2 separate regions of the Homo sapiens genome follow, and region 1 is linked to region 2. Evidence: promoter capture Hi-C in human tissues and cell types (Jung and others, 2019). All regions are on one chromosome and are shown on one strand. Each heading gives the region's core, a stretch centred on a gene start or on the middle of the fragment in contact. The rest is flanking DNA. Distances are from core to core; before and after follow the strand shown. Region 1 overlaps CCDC47 (coiled-coil domain containing 47). Region 2 holds the start of KCNH6 (potassium voltage-gated channel subfamily H member 6).

Region 1 (2,826 bases), core at 88-2,587, 240 kb before region 2:
CTGGTAGTTTTTAGGGAGGAAAAGTAGGGAGTGGGGAGAGCATTAAGACGATACCATTTAAAATAATATGGTGGCTCTTCAGCAGGTGGGGGTAACTTGTAGTGGCTATAGGAATCAAAGAAGGAAACACCAGGATTTGATGGCTGATAGATTTCAAAGGAAAAAGAAGGCAAAACATTAGATATCTTGTTCTTTTCAACAAGCAAGACTGGAAAAATGTGATTGATATTAATATACGAATAGAGAAATTCAGATACCTGATGATTTTGAGATGACTATAGGCAGGGATTGGGTCAGCCTGAGGGGAGGCCTGTGAAGTAAGAATGGTCTTTATATTGTTTTAAAGTTTTTTTTAAAAAAAGAACAATATGCAGCAGAGACCAGTATGTACCCCATGAAGCCTAGAATATTTACTATCTTACTAGATACACGAAAAGTTTGTAGGGCGTCAAAACAGATATGTCTTCAAGGTTACAGTGAGTTATGACATAGGGCTGGTGTTTAGATGAGGGACAGGACTGGAAATACAGCCTAAATGGGTTTGATGGTTGAAATATACTTTTCAAATTTCAGCTCAAATGGTCTCCCCACTTTTTTTTTTGTAAAGCCTTACCTATTTGGGAAAATGGTTACATTGTTGTCCATGTTTTCATATAATTTGGCACATATTTTGTCACAGATATGATATCATTATATTTGTTAATGCAGAAGCTTTTTTCACGTATTAGAAAACTTAATGTTCTTCAAAAAGCTATAAAATGATGATACATTGAATTCCATCATACACACTAAGAACAATTGGTTAGCAAAAAATTACTGCTTCTAAGCAAGTAATATGAAAGCACAGCCACCTACCACATTTGAGATGCAGCCTGAGAAGTGGTTCATAGCATGGACTCTGGAGGCAAAACTCTGGGATTAAATCACAGCTCTTTGTCACTTGGTAGTTGTACTACTTAGCATCTCTCTGCCCCATTTTCCTTATTAGTGAAATGGGGATGTTAATGTTGCAGCTTTCCTTAGAGGGTTGTTATGAGGATTAAATTAGTTGCTTTTTGTAAAGTCTTTGGAACAGTGTCTAGCACATAGTGATTTAAGTGTTTGCTCTTATGATAATTATGTTCATGCATGAACACAAATCAATCTAAGGGTGAATGGCTTTTTTATTCATGGATTATTCTTGTTACCACTAACAGATAAATAGCTACATCTTATTCCTTCATTTTTACCTCCTTCTCATTTTCTATAGAAAGCTTTTTAATAGGCCCTCAAAAAATGCTTATTGAATACTCTATGTAAATGGACAGAGTTTTAGAAAACCCAACCTAAAGAAATTAAATGACTTGGGCTGGGCACAGTGGCTCACACCTGTAATCCCAGCACTTTGGGAGGCCGAGACAGATGGATCACCCTGAGGTCAGGAGTTCACAACTAGCCTGGCCAACATGGTGAAACCCCATCTCTACTAAAAATACAAAAATTAGCCAGGCGTGGTGGCACATGCCTGTAATCCCAGCTACTCGGGAGGCTGAGGCAGGAGAATCGCTTGAACCCAGGAGGCAGAGGTTGCAGTGAGCCAAGATCACACCATTGTGCTCCAACCTGGGCGACAAGAGCAAAACTCCGTCTCAAAAAAAAAGAAATTAAATAAATGACTTGATGACTTGTTGAAGATTTTACAGATATGTAGTGCCAGGATCCAGACTAGAACCCAAGCCTCTTGACCTTACTTCATTGTTCTTTATATAATGTGGTCTGAATCTAATAGTACCAAATAAGAGAAAAGCAGGAGAGGTTTATAGATTTTTACTGTTTATAAAATCTGATCAGTATGTATAGAATGGCAATCCATTTTGGGGTTCTCTTTTTTTTTAAGCTTTTTTTCTCAAGGTGCAATGAAAGCCTTCCACACTTTCTGTGTTGTCCTTCTGGTGTTTGGGAGTGTCTCTGAAGCCAAGTTTGATGATTTTGAGGATGAGGAGGACATAGTAGAGTATGATGATAATGACTTCGCTGAATTTGAGGATGTCATGGAAGACTCTGTTACTGAATCTCCTCAACGGGTCATAATCACTGAAGATGATGAAGATGAGACCACTGTGGAGTTGGAAGGGCAGGATGAAAACCAAGAAGGAGATTTTGAAGATGCAGATACCCAGGTGAGGCTCTTTTTATTAATTTATTGGAAAAATTTGTAACTAGCACCTTTCCCAAACATTAAAATTAATCCTCAGGCTCAAGAGACCTTTACTGTCTGGAGTCTTCATTTTCATTCACTAGGTAGAGCTCTTCTAAATGTTCTGTGGTAAGTTTCCACCTTTTACATTAACAGAATGAATTGTGTTCTTCTATTGAAACCCTGACTGGAAGAGGGGTTAGAGAATAGATACTGTTTGTGGGTGAGAATTGTATTATTTAGAACTTTGCAATTGGCTGGGCACGGTGGCTCATGCCTGTAATCCCAGCACTTTGGGAGGCCAAGGCAGGCAGATCACCCAAGGTCAGGAGTTTGAGACCAGCCTGGCCAACATGGTGAAACCCTGTCTCTACTAAAAATACAAAATTAGCTGGGCGTGGTGGTGCGTGCCTGTCATGTCAGCTACTTGGGAGGCTGAGCCAAGAGAATCGCTTGAACCTGGGAGGTGGAGGTTGCAGTGAGCTGAGATTGAGCCACTGCACTTCAGCCTGGGTGATAGAGCAAGACCTTGTCTCCAAAAAAAAAAAGAAAAGAAAAAACTTTGTCATCAAAAGCATGGGGACTCATCATTTTGGTGTTTTGGGTGCTCCCCAGCTTTATTGAGGTGTAACTGACAAAAATTGTATATA
Region 2 (2,760 bases), core at 167-2,666:
GCCTTGCCTGGCCACAGAGGTCTTCAGGAGGTGACTCCTCCTCTAATCCTTGGAGCAGACGGAGAGGAGGGAAGGTTAATTTCCATCCCAGCTGCCTGACCGCTGGGGCTGACAGTAAGATAGTGGAGAGCCAGGAGACCAGGGACACAGCAGAGGGATGGCAGAGCAGGAGGCCCTGCCCCAGGCCAGAACCAGTGGGTGGCCCAGCCTGATCCCTAGCTCCTGCAAAGGACCTCAGAAGGCATCATATCCAATGCCTGTGGAGGAACCAAGGCCCCTAGAAGAAACAGGGTTTGTTCAGGCCCTTTGGACCCTGGGTCAGTGCCTTCCCCAAGGCCACCCTGGCTGGACAAGACAGAGGGCCAAGCCTGCCCTGCAAAGCCTCTGGCCTGAGTATGCCTCACCATCCTTGCGGTAGTAGAGGATGTCCACCTTGCACTCCTCAGCCCCCAGCAGGGCCTGCGCTAGGCGGGACACGGCGCTGCTTGGTGTGTTGGGGCCTGTGAGGAAGTCGCAGGTGCAGGGTTGCTGCATCACCTCCACTCGGGAGTAGCCGAAGAGTTCGCAGAAGCCGTCGTTGCAGTAAATGATGGCGCAGTTCTCCATCTGAGCATTGGCAATCAGGAACTTCCGACCTGGGGTGGGAGGTGGGAGGCAAAAAGTCCATGGGAGCCAGGATCCAGCGGCTGGGAGGGAAAGATCATAAGGACTCTTGGTGGCAGTAAGGGGAATTTAGGCAGAGGAGCAGGGCAGTGACCGGAATGAGGGAGGGAGTCAGGCCTGGGGATTGTGGGAAGACTAGGGCAGTGAGGGTCTTGAGGTGGAAGGAAGGCCCAAGGCCTCCTGGAAACAGGAAAAGTGTGGGGAAGGGAGGCAGGGATGTGACCAGATGGGGGTCAGGCCTGGGAAAGCTCCTGGGAAGACCAGAACCAGGATATGAAAAGGAAGGAAAAGAAGGACTCAGAGAAGCCTCTGGAGGACGCGGATGAGGGGGCAGGCAGTGGCTGGAAGGGGAGGTTCGAACTTGGGGCACCAAGGAAACAGCTGGCAGTAGGGAGGGAAGGCCTGCACGCTGCTCCTTGTGTTCCAGAAAAGAGGACAGCATTTAAGGCAAGCGGGTCCCCCTGGAGGAGAAGGTGTTGGGGACATCAAAAGAAGGATTTTTCATTCAGCACCCGGCACTCACCACCTTGCCCGGTTAGAAGTTAGTAAAGGGGTCCAGCCCCCCCTTTCACGGAACCAGGACTCCAGATCGTCCCCCCGCCCCAACATACACACACTCACTTTGGCCCTCGAACTTGCGGATGATGGTGTCCAGGTAAGTGTTTTGGGGAGCGACGTGGCCCCTGCGGACCGGCATCTTTCGGCCGCGGCCCCTGCCCGGAGCCACAGGCGCCACTGGCTCCCGGCGTCTCCGTCTGTCCTCGGGCTCAGCAGCGTCCGGCTCCGGTGGGCGCCGCCCCCGGGGAGGGCCGCCGGGCTCCGCGCCCCGCCCGCCAGCCTGCGTCTGCCCTCCCCTCCCCACCCCTGCCCCACCTCTCCTTTCCTTTCCTGCGCTCCCCTGCCCTCCCCTCGCCTCCCTGGCCCGCGCCCTCCTGGCCTCCTCTCCTCTGCGCCGGCCCGGGAGCTGTCCACGCCTTGGTGCTGAAAGAAGCCGCGCGCCGGCGGCGGGGAGGGGGCCGCTGGGCGGGGCAGTTTCTCTGGGACCCGACGGGGCTGGGGCGGGGCCTTGCATCCTACGGGGCGGGGCGGGGCGGGGCGGGGCGGGGCTGGGGTCCTGGCCCTGGAATAGGGCAGGTGTTCTCTGAGGAGCTGCTTCTGTTCCTGTCCTAAGGGCCAATGGCCTCAGCACCTCTCCGATTCCCTCCCAGTACCAAAGGGCAGTCTCCCCTCCCAGTGCAGGGAGTTTCCCAGGCAGGAGGGGGGCTACAGATGGGGTTGTTAGGGGCCTCAGGTGGTCTTTGGCTGAAAGCTTTCTTCCGGGTCTGACCACTGGGCCCGACCCTGGCAATGATACCATTAGGCCTCTGGCCTGCTCTTATAGCAAGTGATCTCCAGCTCAGCTGAGACCTAGGTCCCATGCAGAGCTCCTGCCGCCAAGTCCAGCCAGGGCCTGGTCCTGAGAGGAGGGGGTAGGAGTACACATGAAGACGTGCAAGAAATATGCAATAAGGGCCAGGCGCGGTGGCTCACGCCTGTAATCCCAGCACTTTGGGAGGCAGAGGTGGGCAGATTACCTGAGGTCAGGAGTTTGAGACCAGCCTGGCCAACATGGCGAAGCCCTGTCTCTACTGAAAAAACAAAAATTAGCTGAGTGGTGGCGCAAACCTATAATCCCAGCTACTTGGGAGGCTGAAGTGGGAGAATCGCTTGTACCCGGGAGGCGGAGGTTGCAGTGAGCCGAGATTGCGCCACTGTACTCCAGCCTGGTAGACAGAGCGAGACGCGAGACTCCATCTGAAAATAAAAAGAAAGAAAGAAAGAAGTATGCAATAAGATGCCTTCTTCAGAGGCCTGAGAGCTCTTAGCATACAGGTACATCTTGGAAGGAGAACAGATTTAAAACCACCTATTAGCAAGTGACCACTGATAAAAGTGTCTGAGTACTGAGTACTGACTGAAAATGAACACACTAGAAAAAGCAAATGGGGGTGGGAATAGGTTTATTGAAAGAGGCTTCCTGGAGAGGAAGGGGAGAAGGGGACTACTGTTCACTGAGCATCTGGGTGGGCTTGTAGTGCTGCAGAGGGTTTGGTGAGC

What was found. The method cuts DNA at HindIII sites, captures the fragments that hold promoters and counts their contacts. A contact is called where the count stands out against the background at its distance.
Region 1: a fragment that was not itself captured here is called in contact with the fragment with the promoter of KCNH6 in region 2 in 2 of the 25 tissues and cell types used here (dorsolateral prefrontal cortex and spleen).

What each region holds. Positions count from the first base shown.
Region 1 is chr17:63,765,245-63,768,070 of GRCh38, reverse strand. CCDC47 (coiled-coil domain containing 47) reads left to right here. Exons shown (of 13, transcript NM_020198.3): 2 at 1,877-2,159. The coding sequence starts at 1,896. Among named protein-coding and RNA genes, the nearest start is that of CCDC47, 6.9 kb to the left of the region's middle. The HindIII fragment of the contact is 5,197 bases long and covers 1-2,826 here.
Region 2 is chr17:63,522,014-63,524,773 of GRCh38, reverse strand. It overlaps KCNH6 (potassium voltage-gated channel subfamily H member 6), which reads right to left and starts at 1,416. Exons shown (of 13, transcript NM_001278919.2): 1 at 1,285-1,416; 2 at 405-635. The coding sequence starts at 1,360. The HindIII fragment of the contact is 20,898 bases long and covers 1-2,760 here.